Regions from separate parts of the Homo sapiens genome. Here all the other regions are linked to region 2. The links are contacts of gene promoters, found by promoter capture Hi-C in human tissues and cell types (Jung and others, 2019). All regions are on one chromosome and are shown on one strand. Each heading gives the region's core, a stretch centred on a gene start or on the middle of the fragment in contact. The rest is flanking DNA. Distances are from core to core; before and after follow the strand shown. Region 1 holds the start of SYT2 (synaptotagmin 2). Region 2 holds the start of KLHL12 (kelch like family member 12). Region 3 overlaps KDM5B (lysine demethylase 5B).

What was found. The method cuts DNA at HindIII sites, captures the fragments that hold promoters and counts their contacts. A contact is called where the count stands out against the background at its distance.
Region 1: a contact is called between a fragment that was not itself captured here and the fragment with the promoter of KLHL12 in region 2, in 2 of the 25 tissues and cell types used here (aorta and mesendoderm cells).
Region 3: a fragment that was not itself captured here is called in contact with the fragment with the promoter of KLHL12 in region 2 in 2 of the 25 tissues and cell types used here (IMR-90 fibroblasts and aorta).

What each region holds. Positions count from the first base shown.
Region 1 is chr1:202,705,563-202,710,503 of GRCh38, reverse strand. It overlaps SYT2 (synaptotagmin 2), which reads left to right and starts at 50. Exons shown (of 9, transcript NM_177402.5): 1 at 50-246. The HindIII fragment of the contact is 4,055 bases long and covers 1,536-4,941 here.
Region 2 is chr1:202,924,535-202,928,918 of GRCh38, reverse strand. It overlaps KLHL12 (kelch like family member 12), which reads left to right and starts at 1,685. Exons shown (of 12, transcript NM_021633.4): 1 at 1,685-1,830; 2 at 3,712-3,951. The coding sequence starts at 3,757. RefSeq lists enhancers at 1-416, 1,493-1,542. The HindIII fragment of the contact is 17,641 bases long and covers 1-4,384 here.
Region 3 is chr1:202,743,503-202,748,202 of GRCh38, reverse strand. It overlaps KDM5B (lysine demethylase 5B), which reads left to right. Exons shown (of 27, transcript NM_006618.5): 15 at 1,880-2,061; 16 at 2,221-2,345. Among named protein-coding and RNA genes, the nearest start is that of SYT2, 35 kb to the right of the region's middle. The HindIII fragment of the contact is 4,315 bases long and covers 506-4,700 here.

The DNA.
Region 1 (4,941 bases), core at 2,314-4,813, 220 kb after region 2:
CTCGCCGCGCGCGCCCATCGATCAGGCCCCCTCCCTCTGCCGCCTCGGCGCAGACTGCTAAGCTCAGCAAGTCTTGCGGCAAAGGCACTTCGGAGCCGAGTTGGGGCAGCGGTGGAGCGGGGACTTCGCGCCCCCAGGGGAACGGGCGCCCCTGCGAAACCGTCGCCAGCCACGCGTCCTTGCCGTCCGACGCCCCCTCACATTGGAGACCCCGGATCTCTCCCGCCTCCTTCGGGTCGCTCTCCGGTAAGTCCATACCCCCGCCGGTGGGGGCACGGACCTCCCTCTCCAAAGTTTCTCCTTTCCTGCTACTGAGTCGAGGGGCCACGGGGTGGTCTGGGTCCCGAGAGGTGAGTAGGGTTGGGGAAGTTTGAGGCCAAGGGGGCCGGGAGTCTGCCCCGTCCTTTGGGGGAGTTTGGAAGCGTCCGGATGGAAGGTTCGTCTCGGGGAGTCGGACCCGAGGGGCGAGGAGCCGGCTCCTCTGAGGGACTGGGGCTGGGCTGGGGGCAGATTTCCTCCCGCGGGTTGCTGCAGAGAGGGGCGGGCCACGCGTCCCCTGCACCGGCCGGCTCTGCGCCCCCGTCCCTCTCTCCTTTCCCTGGGACGAACCCACTCGCGTCTAGCCCAGCCCCCGCCAGCCCTAGCGGTCTCCAAGGAAGGTTCTTTTGCCCCAGTCTCAAGCTTCGGGGACCCCTGGCACCGCCGTCGTGGGAAGTGGGGCGGGGGGTGGGGTCTGGGCGCTGGGAGCCGGAGACCCTGGGTCAGGGAGAGGTTGGGGAGACAGACTGCAGGGGCCATCTGGAAGCAACGGGCACGAGGAGCTGGGGCAGGGGCCCAAGAAGGGGCTGGAGGCGCCCCTCCCCTCTCTCCAAATCTCATGACTCAGCACGACCTAGGACGCCCCGTCCCTGCTTCAGCTCTGTCCCCAAGGGCTAGGCTCGCAGCCTGGCGGGTGCTGACAGCCCGACTCCCTTTTCTGGACTCTTCCATGTACCTTTCCCATTTGGGGTGCCCCCTTCCCCTGCCTATGCTCCTTCCCCCACCTCTGGGGCACAGGGCTTTTATTTTTCAACTAAAAAGTGGAGCTTTATCGTTTCACATCCCACTAAGCCAGGCCCCCTCATCCTGTCTCCTCCCTTTTCATCCCCACATTCCACAGGTGCCTCCAGGACACCCCCAGCCCATGGCTCGTGGGGTGTCTCCTGGCAGGGCAGTGTCCTCCCTTACCCCTGGCTGAGGTGGCAGAGTAGGTGCTCTCCCCGCAGCAGGAGAAGGGAGTGCAAGGACAGAAGAGGTGCTGGCCCAGGAGGGGCCACTGCAGTGGGGAGGGAAGGGCAGAGGCCCCGTGGGCAGGTAGTACAGGTTGAGTTAGCTTATAAGGAGGAGGAAGTCCTTAGGATCTGGGGGCGCCCAGGAAGCCAGAAAGGTGAACTGGGGTCTGACCTGGAAAGCAAAAGGGTGCCCTTCTCCCTCCCCTACTGCTGCCGCCCTGCGGGGCCTCTCCCAGGTGGAATAGATTGTCCTCCATCCAATCTGTCTGGATCCCCATAACCTGGCACTTCATTAGAGGGGGTGACAGAAGCAGGGAAGCCCTTAATCCTTTCAACCATCTCTCCCTACTTAAGACTAAGTCCAGCTTTGGGGCTGCTAGAAACATCTCTGTGACCAGCAGAGGTGCTGAAAAAAGCCATGCCCAGTGCCCCAAAGGCGGGCCCGAGTGGCAGGTGGAAGGGGGCAGGGTGGCTCTGATGCAGTGGGACGTGCCTGGCATCCTGGTCCTGTGGAATGAGAGTGGTGGTCTGGCAGGCACTGCAAGCTGCAGCGTGTGTCAGGGCCCTGGGGGTGAGTCAGCGTCAGGGGTCCACGCCAGGCACACTGCAGCCTAGGGAGTCCAACTCCAACCCATCTCCTCCCATGCCCCTGGAAAATGGCCAGTGCCCACTGAACCCCGACTGAACCACCTTTCCCTCAGGGTGGCTGCCTCTGCTCTGCTTGGCTGCCAGGCAGATCCCTGGCTTCACCCTCTAGGACTCCCCCCAGAGGCTTGGCTTTTTCTGGAGATCTTTTGGGCTTAATCCTTACCTTCTCCCCTCCTTGTCTTGCCAAAGGAGGAGGAGAGGGAGGCAGAGGAAAGTTTCTAGGTTATAGCCTCACATAGACCTGGCCCACCATTCCCTGGAGGAAGAGAGACCAGACCACTCTGCTGGGAGTCTGCTTTGTTCTGCAGTCCAGGAGCTTGGTCCAGGGAACTTGGGTTTTCTTTTGGGGGAAGGGGGTGATTATGCAGGAACATTTCTTTTTCAGCTTTGGGGTCTGACATCCGCAGAACAGGACCAGGGGAAGCAAAAAGTGTTGGTGTTCGTAAACATTGACTTTTCACCTAGAGAAGCTTGCAACTGGCTTCAATTTAGGACTGAAGCTGGTTTCACCTGGGCAAAGCATGTACCTTGCTGAAGACCTCGCAGGGCCGAGGAGACCCTTTCTGGAGCTGGGTCTGGGCTCACCTGCCCTCACATTGCAGCTGGAGCTCGTTTTATTCCTTCTACCCTTAGGCAGCTTCCAGGCAGGTGTGACAGGGCTGTCTATGATACTGCAGAGACCTGGGGGTGGGCTTTGGAGGTGGCTGGAGAAGCCTCTTCCTTGCCCTTCTCAAGCCCTGGGGACCAGGCTACCCCAGTGTTCCCCAGCCCCTAGGCAAGCCTGACCTCTAGTCATTCTTTCTGCCTCCATCTGAACATTATCATATCTCAATGGGGTCTCCTTTTTCTTCCCCGCCAGGCCTGTGCCGCCCTCTCAGGGGAGAGTAGATAGAGGGGCAGTGAGTGCACTGGAAGCAGGGGGACAGAAGGCAGTGAGGACAGAGTGGGAGGAGGTTGGGCTTCATTTGCCTGGAAGAATGACCATCATTCCCTTCCCTGGACAGAAGCATCCTCGTGGAGGACTTAAGGCTGCAGATGAGTAGAAACACTACTTCACTTGGCTTTGGGATTTGCTCTGTGGACTTCCCCAGTCTAGGCAGGTCCTAGCTGAAGCCAGAGTATCCCCACCACTGAAGGTCCAGGGTGGTGGGGATACTCTTTAAGAACTGGAACAGCAAGTCAGAGGGAGTAATGGGGGGGCAGGGTCACTCAGTGCAGTGGTTAAATATGAAGCACCAAAGAATGGAGGCTAGGAGATAGACAGGCCTGGGTTCAAATCCCAGGGCTGCTAAGTACAAAGTCTGACATTTGCAACAAGTATTTTATTAGTGAGTACCTACCATGTGCCACTATTGTAGTCTCTCTGGGTGGGGAGGTGAGCACAGCCGCAGGCCCTACACATGTTACTGAGCCACTCAGCATCCCTTCTGCATTCGTTCCACTATTGCATTTTGAGAATCTGTGCTAGGCAATGGAGATTCAGGTGGGAACAAAACAGACCTGTTTCCTGCCCTCGTGGCATTTACAATCTAGTGAATACCACACAATTAGATAATTACATAAAGAATTCATCATGACTGTGCCAAGAGTTATGAAGGTATGTAGGAAGCTTCGAGAGCATGTAACAGGATGATCTGACAATGTCTGCACAGTTTTCTCTAAAGAACAGAGGTAATAATGCTTAACTCTCAGGGTAGTATTGTAGAACTGATAACTATTCGTGTTATTTTAGAAGTAGCCCCTGGACCACCAGACAGATGCAGTTCTAAATTCCCTACGTGAATAATCCATCCATAGGCAACAAGTTGATTCTTCATCTTCCACTCAGTCAGAGAAGCCAGGCCAGAGAAGCTGGGATTCAGTTATGGCTTCTCCTGGACTCCAGAAGCCTGTGATAAATAATATAGTTTCATTGGAGAAACATCAAGTCAGAGATTTTTTTCTAAGTGGCAGTATAGTGACTACAGCCAGATTGCCAGGGTTCATCCTGGTTCTGCCACTTGCTGTGATTTTGGGCGAGTCAATCACACTCTGTTTTTTAGTCTTGCCATCTGTAGAATGGAGCTAAAATTTGTAACTATGACGTAGATTGTTCTTGGTGAGGATGAAATGGGTTAATTCCTGTAAAGCGTGTAGAACAGTGCCTGGCGCGGGAGGAGTAAGTGCTTTTCATCCTTGGGTGGCCTGCGTGCTCCTTTTCCTGCCCACACACACAACACTGTCTTGGGTTCTCCAGCTGCAGGGAGCACTGTCCACCTTTGATATTCTTAAAACTCAAGGGAAGGAGTTGCCCTCACCGTCTTGGTGGTCAGTCCTGCATTTCATCCCCCTCACTCGAAGACGGTTTTTATGCCTAATGAGTCTTTTCTTGCCAAAGCTTGATTTCTGGGAAGGATTTGTCCCAGCAATCCTTCATTTTCATCTCTGGAACTGACAGTTCAAGGAAGTAGCCAGAGTGATGGGTAAATTTGGATCCAGGCCCAGAGGGACCTGAGAGTCACTGTGAGCCTGGAGGGCAGGGGAACACCTAGCTGCCAGCCCCCTCCCCTAGAGAGGCTGGGTCTAAAATTAAACATCCAGAAGGACTCCCCAGGCCAGGTGCAGTGGCTCACACCTGTAATCCCAGCGCTTTGGGAGGCTGAGGTAGAAGGATCGCTTGAGCCCAGGAATTCCAGAGCAGGCTGGGCAACATATGGAGACCCTGTCTCTACAAAAAATTTAAAAATTAGCTGGGCATGGTGGCACACCAGGTTAAGCAGGAGGATCGCCTGAGCCCAGGAGGTCGAGACTGCAGTGAGCTATGGTCATGCCACTTCACTTCAGCCTGGAAAACAGTGAGATCCGGTCTCAAAAAAAAAAAAAGGACTCCCAAAATCCAAGATGAGCAGTAGATATTGTAGAAGCTTCCTCCCTGGATCATTTTCTGATGAGGATAAAGTCCCTGCTGGCTGAGTGCCAGGGAGGAGGTTAGATTCTGAAAGCCCCTCACACTTAGGGAAGTAGGATGTGAGTAGCAGGGTCC
Region 2 (4,384 bases), core at 436-2,935:
GGCGGAGGTTGCAGTGAGCTGAGATCGCGCCAGTGCACTCGAGCCTCGGCGACAGAGCAAGAGTCCGTCTCAAAAAAAAAAAAAAAAAAAAAAAAGAATCAAAGGGCTCACAGAGCATAATAGTATTACCAAACACAATTTGTCTAGACATTCAGATAAGCTGAACTAATTAAGCTTTTTGCCTTTTCAGTCACTAAGTGCACCAAAATAAATTAGAATTTCCTGAATCAATTAGAATTTCCTTAGAATCAATTCAGTGGTGATGACAGGGCCCATTATGATGCAGAGTATATACTGAGGTCTGTGGATCCTAAGGCTCAGAGGATTCTCGCCGCAGCGTTGTTCGGCCCGAAAAGGCCATTGTGGACAATGGACGTGAATAAATTTGAGGCCTCTGTGGGTTTTCTCGATGTCAAAAAGTTCCTCAGTACCTGGAAGGTAAAACATACTTGCTGCAATCAGATGCTTGGCATATTAAGCGTTGGAATTCTCTCTGCCTGCCCTGCCTAGTGAGCGGTAGGGAGGAACTCAGGCTCAGCCAATCGCCGAGCTGTAGATACATTCCCAGGCTCCCTGCCGGACCCCACAACATCCAGCCTTTTTTTTGTTTTTTCTTTTTTTTCTTTTTTCTTTTTTTTTTTTTTGAGACGGAGTCTTGCTCTGTCGCCCAGGCTGGAGTACAGTGGCGCGATCTCAGCTCACTGCAACCTCCGCCTCCCGGGTTCACGCCATTCTCCTGCCTCAGCTTCCCGAGTAGCTGGGACTACTGGCGCCCGCCACTACGCCCAGCCAATTTTTTTGTATTTTTAGTGGAGACGGGGTTTCACCGTGTTAGCCAGAATCGATCTCCTGACCTCGTGATCCACCCGTCTCGGCCTCCCAAAGTGCTGGGATTACAGGCGTGAGCCACCTCGCCTGGCCTTTTTTTTTTTTTTTTAAGAGACAGAGTCTCAGTCGGTCGCCCAGCCCGGAGTGCAATGGCGCGATCTCGGCTCAGCAACCTCCGCCTCCCAGGTTCTAGCGATTCTCCTGCATTAGCCTCCTGAGTAGTTGGGATTACAGGCGCGTGCCACAACGCCCGGCTAATTTTTTTGTATTTTCAGTAGAGATAGGGTTTCACCATGTTGGCCAGGCTGGTCTCGAACTCCTGACCTCAAGTAATACACCCGCCTCGGCCTCCCAAAGTGCCGGGATTACAGGCGTGAGCCACCACGCCTGGACATTTTTTTTTTTTTTTTTTTTTTACAGGGTCTCATTCTGTGGCCCAGGCTGGAGTGCAGTGGCGATCCTGGCTCACTGCAACCTCTGCTGCCTGGCTCAAGTGATCCTCCTGTCAGCCTCTCGAGTAGCTGGGACTACAGGCGCGGTGCGGGCTAATTTTTTTTTTTTTTTTTTTTTTGTAGAAACGGGGTTTTGCCGTGATCCCCAGGCGGGTCTGGAACTCCGGAGCTCAGGTAATTCGCTCGCCTCGGCCTGCCAAAGTGCCGGGATTATAGGCGTGAGCCACCATTCCCTGCCCACCCGACCTTTTTGTAATTCGGCTTCCTAGCAGCGTACAGAAGCCCCGCGCTAGGGTACAGACAGGTCACGTGACACCACCTCCTCACGTGACGCAGACTCTGGAGCGGGGGGAGGGCGGTGCTCCAGCTGCATTGCGTCATCACGTCGCGCGGCCGCAGGGGCCAGACCCGGACGGCTCCAGAGCCTCCAGAGCCTCCGGGTCTGGGCGGCGCTTCGGCTCCTCCCGAGCCGCCTGCTAGCCCCGCGCCGCACTCCATCCCCACAGGCTGGGGACGGGCCCGGTGCGGCTGTGTGGGTTCGGGAGCGGAGGTGAGTTGCGCGGAAGTGATGGCAGTCAGCCCTTCCCTTCCTGTCCGTCAACTCCGGGTTATGGCCCTACCCCCCATCCTTGGTCTCCCTGCAAGGCGGAATGGGAGACATGCCCAACAGAGGAGGAAGGCTGGCAGTGGGGTGGGGCATCTGGCCTCGGTCACCCTCTCAACTCTCCCCCTGAACTGCCCCTCTCCGATACCTCCACCTGGCGGTGGCGGCCATATGCCTGGTGGTATTAGGAGGAAGGACTTCGTTTCCTTCTCTAGAATTTAGTCTTTCCCGAGTTTACTACCCATTCCCTGCCCCGAATCTCCCGAAGTGGAATCCCTCCATTCAGATGTTAACGAAAGTTCTAGAAAATAGGTCACTTCAGAAGGGTGAGGATGAAGGATATGCTGAGACTTGGAGTGTTGAGGCAGGAATCCCCTAGAAGGAAGACCACTCTGCACCGGGGTACTGTCATTTTGACACGGAAACGATAAAAGACCCCCCGGGCTGTCTTCATAGTAAATGGACATTTGTTCTAGACCTTTTTACACCCCTAGAGTTGCAACTAAGTTGACTTAAGTCTTTTTGAAAAACATATGCTTTGATGAATCACCCGCTTTTCTGTAAAATGGGTCTTGCAGAGTTGTTGGAGGAATTATCTATAGTGCTTATAGAGTAAAATGCCAACTACAAACAGAAGTAGATGAGAATTTAGGATCTCATTTTTCCTGTTGAAAGATTAATTGTGACTTGTGGACTTTTGGAGACCACAGTTTGATTTCCTTCCCCCCGGATCATTTCAGAAAGTTTTGGATTCCAATATCGATTCTTTAACAGTAATGGACATTCACAGATGTAGAGTAGGAATACCCTCTTGTTGAAGAGCTTCAATATCTTAAGCAAGTGTAAGTCCATCGATAACTTGCGTGGTTTCCATTATTCAGTGTAGGTAATGGGTCCTCAATTGAAGTTTCTTTTTTTTTTTTTTTTTTTGAGACAGAGTCTCGCTCTGTTGCCCAGGCTGGAGTGCAGTGGTGTGATCTCGGCTCACTGCAACCTCCACCTCCTGGGTTCAAGTGATTCTCGGGCCTCAGCCTTCTTGGTAGCTAGGATTATAGGCGCGCATCACCACGCCTGGCTATTTTTTGTATTTTTAGTAGAGACTAGGTTTCACCATGTTGGCCAGGCTGCTCTCAAACTCCTGACCTCAACTGATCACCCACCTCAGCCTCCTAAAGTGCTGGGATTACAGGAGTGAGCTGTTGGGCCCGGCCTGAAGTTTCATTTTAAGAAGAAATCCAGATATGTTTGGAAGTCATCAGACATATCATTTGGATACTTCTTTAGAAAAAAGTTTATTTTTACTGAGTGGCCTTTCTTGCTCTAAGTTGAAGTTGAATACACACTTTTTCTTACATTAAATTCTAAACATTTATTGTGCAACTTCTAGGATAGAAAGCATACATATAAAGCAGGATCCTCTTTTTATGTATGCTCTAAATACTTATCTACTTAAGGACATTAAATAGTAATAATATAACACCTTTAAGAAATTTTATATTTTCGGTTTATCATTTGAGACAAGAACCTTGTCAAGATTTACAAGACATATATTGTTTATCTCTACTTACATTTCAGCATTGATCATATTAAATGTCAAGTGGTAGGGACACTCCGTGATAGAGGAATTCAGAGGAAGAAGAGAGAGCTTTTACATGGACTAGATAGTGGCTAGTGGTTGGTGGTGATGCCAGGCATAGGAGTGCCCTCAACTTGTGTATGTTTGGGTCTGAGGAAGCCTCTTAGGTTCTTAATTTGTAAAGCTAATTAAATATGTTCAGTTGCCCTAGTTCTTTGAATATGCTCATTGTTTTTTTTTCCCTCTTGTAGTTGCAGAATCCAAGGACCCATTTTGTTCTTTCTCCGCACTGCTTTATGGGAGGCATTATGGCCCCCAAAGACATAATGACAAATACTCATGCTAAATCCATCCTCAATTCAATGAACTCCCTCAGGAAGAGCAATACCCTCTGTGATGTGACATTGAGAGTAGAGCAGAAAGACTTCCCTGCCCATCGGATTGTGCTGGCTGCCTGTAGTGATTACTTCTGTGCCATGTTCACTAGTGAGGTAAGTGGTAAATTAGCCCCACACAAATGAAACCCGTGGAACTCTAGTTGTCTAATTTCACTGAATAAAATAGTGGAAGTTTGATATAATTTTGAATTTTTACAGTGTGATGTTTTGGCAGATTCTGGATAAGATCTACCACTTAGATGACTATGCCTTAGTTTCCTCATCTTTAAGTTAGGGATAATAGTAATATGTAACACATGGTTATTAAGGTTGTTGTGAAGATTATTTTATGAAATAACATAGGAAGTGCTTAGAATAGTGTAATATGTAGTAAAACACACATGTCAGCTATTGGATTTTACTATTTCTTAAATTTGTCTTCCAATTTTTCTCCTTTTTTTGTTTTTAATTTTATTTATTTATTTGTAGAGACAGGGTCTCACTATGTTGCCCACGCTGGTCTTGAACTCCTGGGCTCAAGCAATCC
Region 3 (4,700 bases), core at 1,414-3,913, 180 kb after region 2:
GTGGATATCTAGTTCTTCCAGCAGCATTTCTTGAAAAGACTATCTTTTCTTCATTAAATTGCTTTGGCACCTTTGTTGAAAATCAATTCACCACATAAGTATGGGTCTATTTCTGGACTCTTGTGTTCTGGTGATCTATGCATCTATTCTATTGCTAATACTAAATGGTCTTGATTATTGTAGCTTTCTAAGAAGTCTTGAAATCAGGTAGTATGAGTCTTCTAACTTTGTTTTTTTTAAAAAATTGTTTTATCTCTTTTACTTTTTTTAATGTACATTTTAGAATCAGCTTATTGATTTCTACCAAATCAATTCCTGTTGGAATTTTGATTGAGACTGCATGAAACTATGGATAGTTTGGGGGAGAATTGATATCTTAATAATATTGAGTCTTCCAATTCATGAACATAGTATAATTTTATATTGCATGTTTTTTGGCACTATTATAAATTGTACTTTTAAAAACTGAATTTCTAATTGTTTATTGCTAGTATTTAGAGAGACAATTGACTTGTATATTGACCTTGTCTCCTGAGACCTTGCTAAAGTCACTTAATTCCCAGTAGCTTTTTCATGGATTCTTTTAGAATAATAATATCTGCAAATAGTAATACTGTTTTTTTTTTTTTTTTTAAAAATATGTGCCTTTTTGGGTAGAATCCTGGAATATTGGCTCTCTGCAGCCCATTTACATTTTAACAGCAGGTTACCTACCTTACCCTCTTATATTTTACAGTTGGGGGAAAATAGTGCCCAGAGGGTTTAAGTAACTTACCAAAGTCTTACATCAAAAATGGTAGCTCATTTTTAGAACTCTGAGACTTTTTCCATATATGGAATTTACAAATTAAAATTAGGTATGAACTACATGATTGATTCTCAATTAAAATCCATGGAGTTGGTCCTTAATCTTATTTTAAACAAAAATGTTAACTTTCTCCATCCCATGAAGTCCTTTTTAATGACCAATTCAAGAATAAAACCAAAATCTAATTAGCATTTTCCTTACCTTCCTCATCTTTGTTGGCCCATATAATTGGCAGATATGAAATAGTTAAAAGGTTAAAATACAGGATAACAGAATAAAAGAAAGAAGCCCAGTAGTTCATAAACGACTGGCATTCTCAAGGCTGGATTAGGATCCAGTTTTAGATAGGGAGAAAAGGTGATAGAAGTTTGGTCTTTAAATGACAAAAGGTGTATCCAAGAAGGGTTCTCTAGATGTTAGGTGGTACAGATTATGTTGAAATTTACTGGTTCAAGACCTTATTTTTCCTGACAGTCTTTTAGGAGGAAATGTTTAATTATGACTTTAGTCTTTGCTATTGCACAAATTTTCTAACTATTCAGTTAATGATATCCTTTCATATAACTTCCTGTAAAAGGCTGAGAGACCACTCAGCATCTTCCCAAACTCAATTTCTGCACGATAGTCTTTTCCACTCGTCCCATCTTCTTTCCTTTTATTTTTGTCCTTTTAATAGATTCTCCATATTTCCTCAGAAGTAGGAAACATATTCCTTTCTTTTAATCTTATCTATACCTCTTATCTATACCCAAAATGTGGACAAGGCTAATTTGTAGTAGAACAGATAACTAATCTCAGTAGTTTTACAGTCCTATGGTGTTCATACTCAGATCAAAATGACCAAACATAAGGACCTGCCTTGTCTGAAAAAGGAGATCTCCCTAGACAAATGAACTTGCCTGTATTTGCTAGGTCATTTGTTTCTTTGTATGCCACACATTTTTAATCATGCATCCCTATTTTGGTAAAGCTTTTTTTTTTTTTTCAGACTCAAGTACTACTGCATGTTTGTCTTGGGCTGGTGGATTATATTATCCTTTGGAGGTCTCTCTAAAGTATACTTTATTCTAGGGAGTGATTGATTCGGAAAGAATGGATTTTGAGCTGTTGCCAGATGATGAACGTCAGTGTGTAAAATGCAAAACTACATGCTTCATGTCTGCCATCTCCTGTTCTTGTAAACCTGGCCTTCTTGTTTGCCTGCATCATGTAAAAGAATTGTGTTCCTGTCCTCCTTACAAATATAAATTGCGGTAAGTAGGAAGAACGATTTTTTTTCCTATGGAAAACAGTTGATCCTTACTAAAAGCTCAATGATACCGCAGTTCTAGGGCTGAAATGTTAAGTATAAAACATCTAGTTTTCTCCAAAGCTACACGTCTCAAAGCTAAGTGTGGTGGTATTATTTCCAGGTATAGGTACACGCTGGATGATCTCTACCCTATGATGAATGCATTGAAGCTTCGAGCAGAATCTTACAACGAATGGGCCTTGAATGTGAATGAAGCTTTGGAGGCAAAGATCAACAAGAAGAAAAGTATGTGATACAGAAAGTGACTTGGTGATTGGCAAATTGGGGCTTATTGTGATGTAGCCAAATTAAAGTCAACAAAACATTTCTTGAAACAGCCTGACCTCATCCTTGGTTAGCCCCTCTACATAGCCCGGTTTACAGAGCACCGGCAGAGAAGGTTTTAAAACCAAGAGTGGATAAGGCAGTTGCCCTTACATCCCAGTGAAATTTTGTTATATGAGTTGTGCAACATCACTTACTTAACAAAAACGATATTGTTAGGAAACCTTTATTTTTGTCTCAGAAATAAAAATTTCACATTTCTTACAAAGATGTTGAAATCTTTAAAAAAACAAAAACAAAAACAAAGCATCTTGTGACAAAGGCAGCATGACACTAAATCAGGAGTCTCTGAAATGGTAGTTTATCACTTCTTAGTTCTAATTAAAGTTAAGGTCCCTGGCACTTGTCATTACCTTTGAAAGTCACTGCTACCCTTTATATCTCTCTCTCTCTTTTTTCTTATGAAAATATAGTTTGTTTTTTGCTTTTTACTTTTCACCTCAGGGGTATATGTGCAAGCTTGTTACATAGATAAACTTGTGTCATGGGCGTTTGTTGTACAGATTATTTCATCATCCAGGTATTAAGCTTAGTACCCATTAGTTATTTTTCTGGAGCCTCTCCCTCCTCCTGCCCTCCACCCTCCAATAGGCTCCATTGTGTGTTGTTCCCCTGTATGTGTTCACGTGTTACTCCCCTGTATGCATCCATGTGTTTTCATCATTTAGCTCCCACTTAATAAGTGAGAATATGCAGTATTTGCTTTCCTGTTCCTAGTGTTAGTTTGCTAACTAATTGCCTCCAGTTCCATCCATGTTCCTGCAAAGGACACGAGCTCATTCTTTTTTATGGCTGCATAGTATTCCATGGTGTATATGTACCACATTTTTCTTTATCCAGTCTATCATTGATGGGTATTTAGGTTGATTCTATGTCTTTGCTATTGTGAATAGTGTTGCAGTGAACATACACATGCATGTGTCTTTATAAATGGAATGATGTATATTCCTTTGGGTATATACCCAGTAATGGCATTGCTCGGTCAAATGGTATTTCAGTCTTTAGATCTTTGAAGAATCACCACACTGTCTTCCACAATCGTTGAACTAATTTACACTTCTACCAACAGTGTATATGCGTTCCCTTTTCTCCACAACCTTGCCAGCATGTTACTTTTTGACTTTTTAATAATAGCCATTCTGACTGGTATGAGGTGATATCTCATTGTGGTGTTTTTTTTGTTTGTTTTTGTTTTTGTTTTGAGACGGAGTCTTGCTCTGTCACCCAGACTGGAGTGCAGTGGTGCGATCTCGGCTCACTGCAACCTCCACCTCCTGGGTTCAAGCAATTCTCCTGCCTCAGCCTCCTGTGTAGCTGGGACTACAGGCACGTGCCAACATGCCCAGCTAATTTTTGTATTTTTAGTAGAGACAGGATTTCACCATGTTAGTCAGGCTGGCCTTGAACTCCTGACCTTGTGATCTGCCTGCCTCGGCCTCCCAAAGTACTGGGATTACAGGCGTGAGCCACTGCGCCCGGCCTTTCATTGTAGTTTTGATTTGCATTTCTCTAATGATCAGTGATGTTGAGCTTTTTTTCATATGATTGTTGGCCATACGTATGTCTTCTTTTGAAAAGTATCTTTTCATATCCTTTGCCTACTTTTTAATGTTTTTTTCTTGTAAATTTGTTTTAAGTTCCTTATATATGCTGGATATTAGACCTTTGTCAGATGCACAGTTTGCAAGTATTTTCTCCCATTCTGTAGGTTGTCTATTCACTCTGATGATAGTTTCTTTTGCTGTGCAGAAGCTCTTTAATTAGATCCCATTTGTCAGTTTTTGCTTTTGTTGAAGTTGCTTTTGGCATCTTCATGAAATCTTTGCCTGTGCCTATGTCCTGACAGGTATTGCCTAGGTTGTCATCCAGGGTTTTTATATTTTTGGGTTTTACATTTAAGTCTTTCATTCCTCTTGAGTTAATTTTTGTATATGGTGTAAGGAAGGGGTCCAGTTTTAATCTTCTGCATATGGCTAGCTGTTATTCCAGCACCATTTATTGAATAGGGAATCCTTTCTCCATTGCTTGTTTTTGTTAGATTAGTTGAAGATCAGATAGTTGTAGGTGTGCCTTTTTATTTCTGGGTTCTCTATTCTGTTCTGTTAGTCTGTGTGTCTGTTTTTGTACCAGTCCATTTCTCTTTCAGAGTGTTTTCACTTGCTTCCATTTCTGTAGCCCAACACGTAACTCCACCCGCTTTTATTTAGGGGAAAGGAGCAATATCATTGTCTCTGAGTCTCCTGTGCTCTAGTAACT